Linked DNA regions of Homo sapiens: regions 1, 2 and 3 are each linked to region 4. Evidence: promoter capture Hi-C in 16 types of primary human blood cells and fetal thymus (Javierre and others, 2016). All regions are on one chromosome and are shown on one strand. The core of a region is centred on a gene start or on the middle of the fragment in contact, and the rest is flanking DNA. Distances in the headings are between cores, read along the strand shown.

Evidence for each region. Contacts are between HindIII fragments. The CHiCAGO score rates a contact against its expected background, and 5 or more counts as called.
Region 1: a contact is called between a fragment that was not itself captured here and the fragment with the promoter of PABPC4 in region 4, in 1 of 17 cell types (fetal thymus). The highest score is 7.9, in fetal thymus.
Region 2: a fragment that was not itself captured here is called in contact with the fragment with the promoter of PABPC4 in region 4 in 1 of 17 cell types (fetal thymus); the score reaches 5.4 in fetal thymus.
Region 3: a fragment that was not itself captured here is called in contact with the fragment with the promoter of PABPC4 in region 4 in 1 of 17 cell types (fetal thymus); the score reaches 5.2 in fetal thymus.

What each region holds. Positions count from the first base shown.
Region 1 is chr1:38,870,528-38,873,781 of GRCh38, forward strand. MYCBP (MYC binding protein) reads right to left here and starts at 2,821. Exons shown (of 5, transcript NM_012333.5): 1 at 2,764-2,821; 2 at 2,491-2,563. The coding sequence starts at 2,778. All of the region lies in intron 1 of RRAGC-DT (RRAGC divergent transcript), which reads left to right. The region is part of intron 1 of GJA9-MYCBP (GJA9-MYCBP readthrough); the gene reads right to left. RefSeq lists an enhancer at 1,855-2,377. The HindIII fragment of the contact is 586 bases long and covers 1,294-1,879 here.
Region 2 is chr1:38,853,888-38,857,329 of GRCh38, forward strand. RRAGC (Ras related GTP binding C) reads right to left here. Exons shown (of 7, transcript NM_022157.4): 2 at 2,992-3,195; 3 at 1,821-2,020. Among named protein-coding and RNA genes, the nearest start is that of RRAGC, 4.2 kb to the right of the region's middle. The HindIII fragment of the contact is 1,921 bases long and covers 490-2,410 here.
Region 3 is chr1:38,993,733-38,997,233 of GRCh38, forward strand. All of the region lies in intron 1 of AKIRIN1 (akirin 1), which reads left to right. Among named protein-coding and RNA genes, the nearest start is that of AKIRIN1, 4.2 kb to the left of the region's middle. The HindIII fragment of the contact is 5,767 bases long and covers 1-3,501 here.
Region 4 is chr1:39,575,262-39,578,815 of GRCh38, forward strand. It overlaps PABPC4 (poly(A) binding protein cytoplasmic 4), which reads right to left and starts at 1,529. Exons shown (of 16, transcript NM_001135653.2): 1 at 498-1,529. The coding sequence starts at 690. RefSeq lists enhancers at 214-333, 354-403, 904-973 and a silencer at 1,474-1,783. The HindIII fragment of the contact is 4,726 bases long and covers 1-2,375 here.

The DNA of each region.
Region 1 (3,254 bases), core at 337-2,836, 700 kb before region 4:
TCACGCCTGTAATCCCAGCACTTTGGGAGGCCGAGGCGGGTGGATCATGAGGTCAGGAGATCGAGACCATCCTGGCTAACAAGGTGAAACCCCGTCTCTACTAAAAATACAAAAAATTAGCCGGGCGCGGTGGCGGGCGCCTGTAGTCCCAGCTACTCGGGAGGCTGAGGCAGGAGAATGGCGTGAACCCGGGAAGCGGAGCTTGCAGTGAGCCGAGATTGCGCCACTGCAGTCCGCAGTCCGGCCTGGGCGACAGAGCGAGACTCCGTCTCAAAAAAAAAAAAAAAAAAAAAAAAAAAAACAAATAGAATTGTGTAAAGCACCTATGTTTGGAGCTGAAAATCAAATTTTTAATAAATCACATCAATACTGTGTTGGCTGATGTTATTTAGGAGCCTGGAAATCTAAGGAGATTGAGAGGTTAAATTCTAGTGGAGGGCGGTGGCTCACACCTGTAATCCCAGCACTCTGCGGGGCTGAGGTGAGCGGATCACCTGAGGTAAGGAGTTCAAGACCAGCCTGGCCCATGTGGTGAAACCGCCTCTCTACTAAAAATACAAAAAATTAGCTAAGCATGGTGGCACATGCCTGTAATCCCAGCTACTTGGAAGGCTGAGGCAACACAATCGCTTGAACCCGGAGGTGGAGGTTGCAGTGAGCCGAGATCATGCCGCTGCACTCCAGCCTGGGCAACATCTTCTGTGTAGTCAGTTACCGCCTACAACTGTCATTTTTCTGCCTTTTACCATTCAGTCTTTCACTTGCTCCATCCAACCACTCTGGCCTCCTTAGACTTCCTGAAACTCTGTTTCTTTCAGGTTTCTGGTCAAAAATTACTTCTTAAGAAAGGCCTTCCCCCCATCACCCTATATAAAATGACACACACATCCCACCTGTCACTTTTTTTTTTTTTTTTTTTTGGAGACAGAGTGTCACTGTTGCCCAGTGGCACAATCACAACTCACTGCAGCCTTGACCTCCTGGGCTCAGGTGATTCTCTCACCTCAGCCTCCACAGTAGCTAGATTACAGGCACACACCATGCCCAGCAATTTTTTTTTTTTTTTAAGAGATGGGAGTTTTGCCATGTTGCCCAGGCTGGTCTTGAGCTCCTGGCCTCTAGCAGTCCACCCACCTCAGCCTCCCAAAGTGCTGAGATTACAGGCATGAGCCACGTGCCTGGCCTCACCTGTTACTCTTTATCCCTAACTTTGCTGTATTTTTATCTGTACCACTTACCACTAGCTGACACTACATATTTATTTATGTATTTCTCTCCCTCAACTAGGATATAAGCTTATGAGAGCCGAGACTTTTATCCTCCCCTGCTTATCTCCAGTGTGCAGAACAGACACCTGAGTAAAATTATTAAATGAAAGAAATGAACGTAAGGAGTTTTTAGACGGAATGACATTCAAAGCATCTGTGACACTTTCAGAGACAACATAGCACAGTACTTTCACAGAGTAGTCCCTTAAGACTTGCTGAAGTTTATTTGCAAAGAGGTAAACTATTATCTGAACCCCAAATAGGTAGCAATTCAAAATTACTAGCCTTCTTTCTTCTAAGACCCAGGAGTTATGCTCCTAGAATTTTCCTCTAAACTTTGCTTCTGTCCAAAGGGCAGTTACCAATTTATTTCCCACTTCCCAAACTTCCTAGTTTCATATGACCCAAGTCCTCATCCCTGCGAACAATTCCATTCTACACCCTTGAATATCCCAGTGAGTTGAGTGACACATAGCAGGCATTCAAATTAGTGCTAAGCCAATAAAGTAAACTGTACCCTACCCCTTGAAATCCTCCTGTTTCCAACACTTTACTCATCTACTTAACTTAGATCTTGAAGCCACGAATGAAGAGATACAGCGTTAACAGTAAGCTTTCATTTTAAAAAGTGAAAACAATGTAACCACCTTGATATGCCCTCGAGCTCTTTAAGCTGTAATTCTACTTTATGAAATATACACAAAATAAGAATTGACACAGACAGACTAAGGAATGGGGGCTGAAAAGCCACAGCCAAATTCGCTATGAATCTCCTACTTTGGGGATTAGGCTCACTCAGCTACTTCATAGCCCACTTGGAAATTCGGTCATTTTTCCAGTTGCTCTTTGTTGGAGGGAAACTTTCTTAACAAGATTCTGAGGACTCCATAAAAACCGTAAGGTGGGAGGAATTGGGATCTGAAGGTCCTTGGCAAACATGTCCACTGCGGCTGCTGGAGGCAAAGCAACGGAAGTTGAAGAGACTTTGCAACAGCTGCAAGAGTTTCACTCCCGGTGCGGAGAAGGGTAGCGGAGCTAGGCTACCCCACCCGGGCGGCGTCCAGCAGCCAGGTCCCTGCTGAACCCCGAGGCCCACCTCGCTGGACCCCGGACGGGCCCCATCTGTTTCCCCTCCTTCCCCACGCTACGGCCCGCTGGGGAACGGGGCAGCGCCGGGGAGCACGACGAGGGCACGAGGTACCCTCTCCTAGCCCAGGCTCACCCTTGGTCAGCGTGTCCAGCACCCCCGACTTCTCCAAGTACCTCCGGAACTGCTCACGCTTCGAGTCGGCGGCCTGAAGAGACACCGGGGGTCAGTGGCCAGAGCCCGGGAGCCGAGCAGGAAGAAGGCGCTGGGAGTCCGGCAACCCCGCCTCCGCCTCACTACCTCGGGGCCCTCCCGCCCAAACCTGCGCGCGCGACCCCACTCCCACCCAGAGCCGACCAGCGGCTTGCTACCGCCCGCATGCCCCCAGCCACGCCGCGCCCCCCTCACTTTGTAATGGGCCATAGTGACAGCGGCAGCGGCGTAGCTGGCGCCGGAGACCGCGACTGGCGGGTTGGGAGCAGCACTGCTCATGCGCGGAAGGGGGCGCGCGCCTGCGCACTTGCAAACCACCGGCCGGGATCGCCGAGGTGTGGCCTGTTTTCATGGCGACCAGGACGCTCTGCATCCCCAGTAGCAGGCTGAGCCGAGGGAGGCTGCGTATGCCCGCCCCTCTGGCTGTCGGAGCCGCACCTCTTCCTCTTCCGGCCCCCGTAGCAATTAGGTTTCTTTGCAGGAGGTGAGATTTTGGTACCTCTGTCCTGGCGTCCGGAGGCAGGGCCCGGGAGCATTGAGACTATTGCGAGAGAAAGGACCGCCGCACGGTGGTAGCGAGCGCATCTTTTTCATCTGGGACCTCGGAAACTGTGGTGACCCATAGGTGCTGGGCTTCTTGGCTCTCGTCCTGAGAAAGTGCTCACAGTGCTTTGCAGTAGCCGAGG
Region 2 (3,442 bases), core at 200-2,699, 720 kb before region 4:
AGTGTTTCCTGTAGGCCAAAAGGTGAGCAAAGAAAGAATGTCCCGCACCTTTGAGGCTTGAGGTAAATGGGGACAGGGAGAACCTGCAAGTCACAGGGCATTTTAGTAAACTGAGTTTCTAGAAACTGGAAATGAAAAGGAGCTTCATCCATAGGACTGCTAGTACTAAATAAAAGTCTTTTTTTTTTTTTTTTTTTTGAGACGGAGTCTTGCTCTGTCACCCAGGCTGGAGTCCAGTGGCACGATCTTGGCTCACTGCAACCTCCACCTCCTGGGTTCAAGCGATTCTCCTCTCTCAGCCTCCCAAGTAGCTGGGACTACAGGCACACACCACAATGCCCGGCTAATTTTTTGTATTTTTAGTAGAGACGGAGTTTCGCCATGTTGGCCAGGCTGGTCTCAAACTCCTGGCCTCAAGTGATCTGCCTGCCTCGGCCTCCCAAAGTGCTGGGATTATAGGCATAAGCCACTATGCCTGGCCTAAATAAAAGCTTGATGCAACATTCTACTGAAGTTAACAAGGTCTAGGACCCTACATGGTACTGAGGAAAGGGATGGCATGTACCACTAGGGTGGGATGCCCTGGAAAGGAACACAGACACGGAGTAAAGAGAATCAGAAGGATCCCCATGGAGCACTGGGGAACACAGGACAAGAACGGCTCAAAATCCAGGTAAAAAACTATTAGCAGTGGATTCCCAAAAAAATAAGACTGAATTTTTGTGGAGAGCCACTTACATTTTCTCCTACAAACATTGCTGAATTTTTATTTTTTTAACATGAATTATTTTCAAATTATTTAGAAATTTAATCCAGGCAAACTAGAGGTCAATGAGACTTTTCGACATGGTTTCCTAGAAGAATAACTGAAAGATCTTGGAGCCTGAGACCCAGAGAATTTTAGGGGGAGGGATAGCAGTTAGCTTGAGCCCATAAAGAAGTCACAACAATAGAACGGGGACAGAGAAATAACTTGCTGTCTCTCTCCCCTTCTCCCTCTTTAAGCTACTTCTATCGTCAAGAGAATATTTTCTTGGGTACTTTTTAATACTCATTTCTACCTATATCACCAAATAAAATAAGATGTACAAAAATATTCCTCATACACTTTTAGAATGCAAATACACAAATCAATCCTATCAAGTAGGTATTATTTAATAATAATTTCTTAACAGTAGTTACAAACCAATAGTCCTCTAAATTTAATAGCAGCCTTATGCACATTTATAAGATAAACCCACCTAAGCCAAACTTTATAGAGTTTCATAAAAGTATAAAGTGTTTTAAAAGCTAAGATATATTACAGTCAGTCCAGGGGGGAGGTGGAAGGGAGCCAGCAGGAAAAATAAAAATGAAAAATAAAAAGAGTCAGTCCAGATTTGAAAGTGCACTCTCTGTATAAGGCTGTTCCTACTGAGAAAGATACTGTCTAAGACTCAAGCTAAAGACTTCCACAACAAATGTGACAGATTCACTTCACTGATGCAAGGCGGGGAAAAGTAATGAAACCAAGAGGAAGGAGTCCCAAAGCAGATTTATGCCATGAAGAAACAGCCTGACTCCAGTCTCTTGAGATGAATTTGGAAAAGCACCAGTGGAAACACTTCACATGACTTCAATCTCCAGGAAAACGCAAAAAGTGGGTAATTTCTCAATATCAGGCTCCCCAGACAGCCTGGAATTCAACAACAAGATCAAAAACATAAAAGATGTGGCAAAGGGCACACAGGTAGCAGAAAGCTATGGTGTTTGTAATGACAGAGATGGGAATACATTTACACCTTGTTCAGGGCTTTCATATCAAACACACATGTTGTTACCTAAGATGGAGTTTTTCTAGCCCAGCATCTGCAAGGTCATCATTGGCCCTTTGATGAATGTCCCTCTGTGTTTCTATTTTGTGATCATCAGACAGACCATCAACTTTGTGAATAAAAACCTCAAAATTCATGTCTGGGTTAACTTTGTAGGCTTTAGAAACAGTAATGTGAAGTCTTGTTAAAGCCTCCATGTAGTCATCCTGTAAGTCAGAACAAAATATTTTTTAAAATAAATCTTACAAAAGCCAAGTAATGAGTTAAAGCCTCAAACCACCTCTTTCCCCAACCACAGAAAAATACTATCCTAATTATCATCAATATTCAAACATTCAAATATACTATACTACTAAATAACTCTTCAATTGTCTCAAGATAAAAAAATTCAATTACCAAGTTAATGCTTGTAATTTTTAATATTAATTTAAGAAAGAAAAAAATGATATGAACATTTTTTCCCAACATAATTTTTTTAAGTAATCCCAGCTCTGCCATTTATTCAGTGTGTCACTTTAAGCAAGCTGCTTAAACTCTGATCTCAGTTTTCTCATCTGTAAGATCAGAATTACAATACCTACCTAACAATATTGTGAAGCTTAAATTAATTAGGTCCTGTACGTGAAGGCACCCTCTGTAGAGCCTATCACTCAGAAAGCATTCTTAACTAATGCTTAAGCTTATAAAAAGTAAGCTTCTTAAAGGATAGGGACTTGCCCCATTCATCTCACTGACTGCCACATGCTAGGCCCTCCATAAATGTTTGTTGAGCTAAACTCAATTTTGACAATTAAGTAAACTATTCACTCTAATATCTACTGACTCAGTTCTCATATTCCTCTTTATGTTATGGGATGGGATATTTTCAGGGAATAACATCACTATTATTATAAAATTATTATAAAATATGGCAACCAATAAAAGTGGAAAGCCAATGTTAGCTGCTCATCAACTAGGACTCAAGGATGTAAACCATATCTCCTAATCATCTGATATTCTGTACCTGCACAATGCATGTCTGCTCCCAAAGCACTCTGCAACTGCATCTCTTACACTGTTAGGGAATCTACTGCCAAAGAGATAAGCTGCAACCACATGACAAAGAAGATAAACAACTTTCCTTTGTTTCTACATCTTTTTCCCACCAGGAAAGAGGAGTAAACACATTACTGACTACCTGTGCGTCAATGACGTATATCAATGCTCCTGTTCCCCTGAAGATCATCTCATAGTCAAAGGTTGGGTCAAAAAAGTCCATTTGCCCAGGAAAATCCCATATCTGGAAATTCACAAAGGAGCTATTGGAAATGTCATCCTTATAAATCTTGTTGGTACTTTCCAAAAAGAGGGTCTCGTTGGGTGACATCTTATGAAACACCACCTGTTAAAAGAAAACAGGCAATTTTATGACTATTAAACTTCAGAATTTAAATTTAAAATTCCACCCTGGTTTAACATTTAAACATTTGATCCCACAAAAAAAAATTTTTTTTGAAAAGTAGAAACTGAATGGTGAATCCATTGGTATTCACTATCCCTTTATTTTTGACAAAAGAAGACACCAAATTAATTTCCATTAAATCTATTTTGGAGCTAAATCTTTTCTCCTATGTTCTATGCACCATACT
Region 3 (3,501 bases), core at 387-2,886, 580 kb before region 4:
ATTCGAGACAAGTCTGTGCAACATAATGAGACCTTGTTTCCACAAAAGAATTCTAAGGCCGGGCGCAGTGGCTCACTCCTATAATCCCAGCACTTTGGGAGGCGGAGGCGGGCGGATCACCTGAGGTCGGGAGTTCAAGACCACCCTGACACACATGGAGAAATCCTGTCTCTACTAAAAATACAAAATTAGTGGGGCATGGTGGTGCATGCCTGTAATCCCAGCTACTCGGGAGGTTGAGGCAGGAGAATCGCTTGAACCTGGGAGGCGGAGATTGCGGTAAGCCGAGATCCGGCCATTGCACTCCATCCTGGGTGACAAGAGTGAAACTCCATCTCAAAAAAAAAAAAAAGCTAAAAAATTAGCTGGGCAATTTTTCTGAAATCCGAAATGCTGCAAAGTCTGAACTGATCCAAAAATTGAGTGTCAATATGACACTCAAAGGAAATACTTATTCACTGGAGTTTTTCTCATTTGGGGTAAGGGATGTTCAATTGGTAAGTATAATGCAACTATTCCACAATCCAAAACTTCTGTCTCAAGCATTTTGGATGAGGGATGCTCAATCTGTATGGTACTTTTTGTGGAAAGGTCCTGTAAAACTAAGCCTTTTATTGCTTAAATCTTTATTGAGTGCTAGGTGAATTCCAGACATGGAAGAAGGGGGTTGCTGACCGCAGGAAATATTTGTAAACGTAATGTGCAAAGCAATTAACTGATTATGACTTGAGAGTCTGAGAATAACTTCTGAATTAAGGTAGCATTTTAGCTGAGTCTTTTTTTGTTGTTTTTTGAGACAGAGTCACTCTGTTGCCCAGGCTGGAGTGTAGTGGCACGATCTTGGCTCACTGCAACCGCCGTCTCCCATGTTCAAGCGATTCTCCTGCCTCAGCCTCCCCAGTGGCTGGGATTACAGGCATGTGTCACTACGCTCGGCTAATTTTTTTTTTTTTTTTTTTTTTTTTTTTTTTTTTGAGATGACGTTTCGCTCTTGTTGCCCAGGCTGGAGTGCAGTAGCATGATCTCGGCTCACTGCAACTTCCACCTCCCAGACTCAAGCGATTCTCCTGCCTTAGCCTCCCAGAACGCTGGGATTACAGGCGCATGCCACCATTCTCAGCTAATTTTTGTATTTTTAGTGGAGATAGGGTTTCATCATACTGGTCAGGCTGGTCTCAAACACCTGACCTCAGGTGATCCGCCTGCCTCAGACTCCCAAAGTGCTGGGATTACAGGCATGAGCCACCACACCCGGCCTACTAATTTTTGTATTTTTTTTGTCAAGACAGGGTTTCACTGTATTGGCCAAGCTGGTCTCAAACTCCTGACCTCAGGTGATCTGCCCGCCTCGGCCTCCCAAAGTGCTGGGATTGCATGAGCCACTGCGCCTGGCTAGCTGAGTCTTGATCAAGTTTGAGCAATAGTCCCATTTCGAGCACAGGGAAACCATGAGAGCAAAGTCCAAAAAACCCACAATTTAAGGAGAGAATAATGTAATGTAACTAAATTATAGTGGAATCCAGATGGAACCAGGAAAATAAATTGAGGCCACATCTTGGAAAGTATTGACTGCCATGTTCAAGAGTTTGAATTTTGGTTTGTAGCAGTAGGAACACTGTAGAGTTTGGAGGATGGGCTTAGACCGGAAAAAATCTGGCAGCACAACCTCAAGTAATGGAGGGAAGGATTAAAATTATCCACTGTTAAAAAGAAATTTGAGTTTTTCTTTTTAAAAAAATTTTGTGCTTTATATGGCCTTCTACAGAAGAAAATCATGTCTAACTTTCTTATTTTTCTCCCATGGATACCGTGTTTAGATTCTTGGACTTCTTAGTCCTACCACCCTCAAAATTGTATCTTTCCATTTGTTAACATTGCCATACAGGAGGCAGAGGTTTATCAAAGACCTTCTGTTCTCTTAAGCGTTGTCCTCATACTTGTCCTTTCTTGTTTCAAGTATTTGCAGTTCTTATCCTTGTATTGGCTCTGGCTTGAGGAATAAGACATCTTAAAATACAGGGGGCTAGCGGTGGCTCACGCCTGTATTCCCAGCACTTTGGGAGGCCGAGGCGGGCGGATCAGCTGAGGTCAGGAGTTTGAGACCAGCCTGGCCAACATTGTGAAACTCTGTCTCTACTAAAAATACAAAAAATTAGGTGGGTGTGGTGGCGGGCTCCTGAAATCCAAACTACTCTGGAGGCTGAGGCAGGAGAATTGCTTGAACCTGGGAGGTAGAGGTTGCAGTGAACTGAGATTGTGCTATTGCACTACAGCCTGGGCGACAGGGTAAGACTCTCTTAAAAAATAAAGTGAGGTGAAAACTTAATAAATTCAGGAATCTAAAATACAAACTTCATAGCACTGTTTTGTTTTGTTTTTTGAGACAGTGTCTTACTCTGTTGCCCAGGCTGGAGTCCAATGGGGTGATCTCGGCTCACTGCAATCTCCACCTCCTGGGTTGAAGCAATTCTCCTGCCTCAGCCTCCCAAGTAGCTGGGATTACAGGTGCGCACCACCATGCCCAGCTAATTTTTGTATTTTTAGTAGAGATGGTTTCGCCATGTTGGTCAGGCTGGTCTCGAACCTCAGGTGATCCACCTGCCTAGGCCTCCCAAAGTGCTGGGATTACAGGCGTGAGCCACCATGTACAGGCTTTTTTTCTTTTTTTTAATACTGGGTCTCGTTATGTTGCCCAGGCTGGCCTCAAGTGATCCTCCCACCTTGGCCTTCCAAAGTGCTGGATTACAGGCATGAGCCACAGTGCCTGGCCCATAGCACTCTTGTTTTTTTGTTTTGTTTTTCTATTTTTTTTTTGAGGCAGAGTCTTGATTGTGTTTCCCAGGCTGGAGTGCAGTGGCACAATCTCGGCTCAGTGCAACCTCCACCTCCCCGGTTCAAGAGATTCTCCTGCCTCAGCTTCCTGAGTAGCTGGGACTACAGGCACGTGCCACCACGCCTGGCTAAATTTTTTTATTTTTAGTAGAGACGGTGTTTCACCATGTTAGCCAAGATAGTCTCGATTTCATGACCTTGTGATCTGCCTGCCTCAGCCTCCCAAAGTGCTGGGATTACAGGCATAAGCCACCATACCCAGCTGGCCCATAACACTCTTAAAGCATCTCCTACATTGTTCTAGTATTTAGGCTGAAAGTTAGGGACTTTGACTATGTGTGGAACCACTTGAATTCATGTCAGTTCCTGGACTGTACTGTCACTTGTTATGACATTATTGTTACCTTTAGTTTTTATTTTTACAACCTTATCAGGTAGGTATTTAATGTTTACATTGAAGAAGTAAAGATCCTGAATAACTTCTCAAGGTTATAGTCACACAGCTAGTAAGAAGCAAAGTGGCATTGTTAATACCTCCCACCATTAAAAAAAAAAAGGTGGTTATAGCAAAGTATACACTAGAATAATTTGAGTTGTTTGAGATGGATACAGGTATCTCTTTTTTTAAATTAGTAGGTACAAACAAAGAACTTGAAAACCACATCCTTT
Region 4 (3,554 bases), core at 279-2,778:
TCCTGCCTGCCCTGACTGATCCTTTATCAGCACAACATCAGGTAGTCAAGGTTAGTAAAGGTGGCGGAGCGGGCAGGAGCTTTACAATGTAAAACTTTCGCGGGGAATTGTGTTTCAAACGTCCCGCCTTTTTGGCCAGCCTGTGAGGGGCACAAGCAAGGATCTCTAACAGCCCAGCCCCACTGACAAGGACCACACGCAGTGGAATGCCAGTGGCTTCACTCTAATCCTGTTTTACAGTCTCCTTGGTTTCCAACCCCACTACCAGCAACACTAATAAGTAGCCCAAGGTCACCCAGTTAGCAAGTGGTAGAAACAAGATTGAAACTCGAGTCATCTGATGCCAGGTCCGCGTTCTCAATCTCCGCACCCTGCTCCCAGCTTCGGTGGCAACATGCTGTCGTGATGCCGCCCTCCTCGGCAGGAGGGCCCTGCCAGAAGACGACTCCCGGGGTCCTCCGGGCTCCCACGCACGTGTGGGCACAGCTTCTACTCACCGTCGGCCGGCTGCTGGAAGTTGACGTAGGCATAGCCCAGGGAGCGGCGGGTGATCATATCGCGGCAGACCCGGATGGACAGCACAGGCCCCGCGGGGCTGAACTTTTCGTACAGCATGGCCTCGGTGACGTCCGAATGCAGGTCGCCCACGTACAGGGAGGCCATGGGGTAGCTGCTGGCCGCAGCGTTCATCTCCCCGCCCCCCACCACCCCGAGCCCCGCCAGGAGGACTTCTTATCGGGCCCGCCGCAGGACAAAGGGGCGCCTTCGGAGCCCGGGCCCGCGCCGCGGCTCACAGGTGGCACCGGCGCGGCGAGGACGAGCTGGAGTCGGCGGGCTTGGAGACGGGACGGAAACGGGAGGCGGGGGCCGGCTCCCACGGCCGCAGCACCGCAGACAAAAGGCTCTCCGCACAATACGGCCCTCCCCGCGACTTTGCACTTCTCCGCGGTCCTGGTGCGAAGCTCCAAATTTCAAAAAATCAAAGTAGGAAAAAAATTAAACGGGGAATCCCCTTCCGAAGGGTAAAAATCCTTTAAGAGGCGACCGGACGCTGCCCACGGCGGCCTCGGGGACACGCGTTTCTCTATAAATATAGGCCTCGGGCTCCGGCGGTTTAAGATTACAACCGCCGGGGCAGAGGGAAACCAAATCTTTGTGGGCGCCGACTCGGCGAGCCCCGGGCGGGCGGCGAAGGGCAGCACGGACACGTGGTGCGCCGGGGCAGGCGCGGGGCGCGGGGCTCGGGGCCCGAGCGGGGGGAGGGCACGGCGGGCCGGGCGGGCGGCTCACCCCCGGACCGACGGACGGAGACCGACGGACGCCAAGCGCTGCGGCGGCGGGCGCGGGGCAGGCCGGAAGCGTACGAAAGTGACTTCCCCGCGGGTTCTCCGAGGATTCGTTTTTTCTTTTCCTTTTTTTTTTTCAGGATTTTGAAGCGTTTTCAGATTTTTTTTATCTTTTTCTCTTTTTTTCCTCAGGCTGCGAAGCCCGAAAGCGGCGGAGGCGGCAGCGACCCGGGGCGGAGAGAGGCGGCCGAGGGAGCCACCGCTCCATTTATACCCGCCCGCCCCGGGCGCTGCTGGTCGAAGGGCGCCTCGCGACCTGGGCGCAGTCGTGCCCGCCCACTCGGCCCGGGGGCCCGAGGCGGGGCGGCCACGCGAGAGCGACCCGGCGCGGCCGCGCGGCGCTACAGCGACCCCTGGCGCCGGGAGGACCGCCCAGCTCGCGGCTGCGGGAGACCCCAGGGCCCCTTTCTATAACAAATAAATCTTAACACCCTCCCACCCATCACCCGGGAATGGAACCTAGGAGCCATTTAACCTGCACACACGCATGAGGTTTAAAATTAAATGGTATGGGGCTGGGTGCAGTGGCTCACGCCTGTAATCCCAGCACTTTGGGAGGCCGAGGCGGATGGATCATGGAGGTCAGGAGATCGAGACCATCCTGGCTAACGCGGTGAAACCCCGTCTCTACTAAAAATACAAAACATTAGCCGGGCGTGGTGGCATGCGCCTGTAGTCCTAGCTACTCGGGAGGCTGAGCAGGAGAATAGCTTGAACCCGGGAGGCGGAGGTCGCGGTGAGCCAAGATCGTGCCACTGCACTCCATCCAGCCTGGGCAACAGAGTGAGACTCCCTCTCAAAAAAAAAAAAATTAAATGGTATGCCAAATTGTGAAATGAAGGTGACATAAAATAAGTTAAAATAAAATAATAGGTGGTCCAATAGGTAAATGTCTGGGTCCAAATACAATAAAGATTTGAGAAGTTTTCAGGATACCGTTGACCTAGAGGTAGAATCGTCAGGAACTAGAAATGCAAGCAGTATCCATGGGTGATGGGATTTTCTGAAAAGATGAGCACATTTTGGTAAAGCTTCAATGAAACCAAACACAAGCATCCCCTCTATTGACATGCTGGTGGCATTCCCGGACATTTAGTTTGTGTTTAAGGGCACAGAAATACTTTCTGTTCCTATGTTTAAAGTTTCTTCTAGGCTTGGATAATTATAAAAAGACTTTTCATCTGCATGAGAGTCTGGCAGGTCATTTGAAAGTCGTATCACAGGCCAGGCGTGGTGGCTCACGCCTGTAATCCCAGCACTTTGGGAGGCCGAGGCGGGCGGATCACTGAGGTCGAGAGTTCGAGACCAGCATGACCAACATGAAGAAACCCCCGTCTCTCCTAAAAATACAAAAAGTAGCCAGACATGGGGGTGCATGCCTGTAATCCCAGCTACTCAGGCGGCTAAAGCAGAAGAATCGCTTGAACCCGGCAGGCAGAGGTTGTGGTGAGCTGAGATCATGCCATTGCACTCTAGCCTGGGCAACAAGAGCGAAACTCCGTCTCAAAAAAAAAAAAGTCATATCACTTTATAGGACTATGTTATATGGGACTGTCCACACGCATTACAAGATATATAGCATCCCTTCTTCCATAAGTGCCAGGAACCACCTTTGCCATCACTGTGAAAACCAAAAACAGAAATTGCCAAAAGACACAGACATCCCCCTTCAAAAGCACTGATTTAAGTAAATGACTAAAGAAATATGTGTATTTATATATTAATTAATTCAAATAAATGGTTAATCTGAGCCTACTCTATGCCAATGTCAATACAGGGGCTGGAGATACCATGGTGGACCAGAAGTCACTCCCTCTCTCATGGAGTTTATATTCTAATAACTATATTAAATCAAGAAACATTGGCTGGGCACGATGGCTCACACCTGTAATCCCAGCACTTTGGCAGGCTGAGGTGAGCGGATCACCTGAGGTCAGGAGTTCGAGACCAGCCTGGCCAACATGGTGAAACCCCATCTCTACTAAAAATACAAAATTAGCCGGGCATGATGGCACGTGCCTATAGTCCCAGCTACTTGGAAGGCTGAGGCAGGAGAATCGCTGGAACCCAGGAGGCAGCGGTTGCAGTAAGCTGAGATCATGCTACTGCACTCCAGCCTGGGTGACAGAGCGAGACTCCGTCTCAAAAAAAAAGGAACATTTATGGGAGTGCTCCTTCTATAGATTCCCTCCTCAGGAAAGTCTTCCT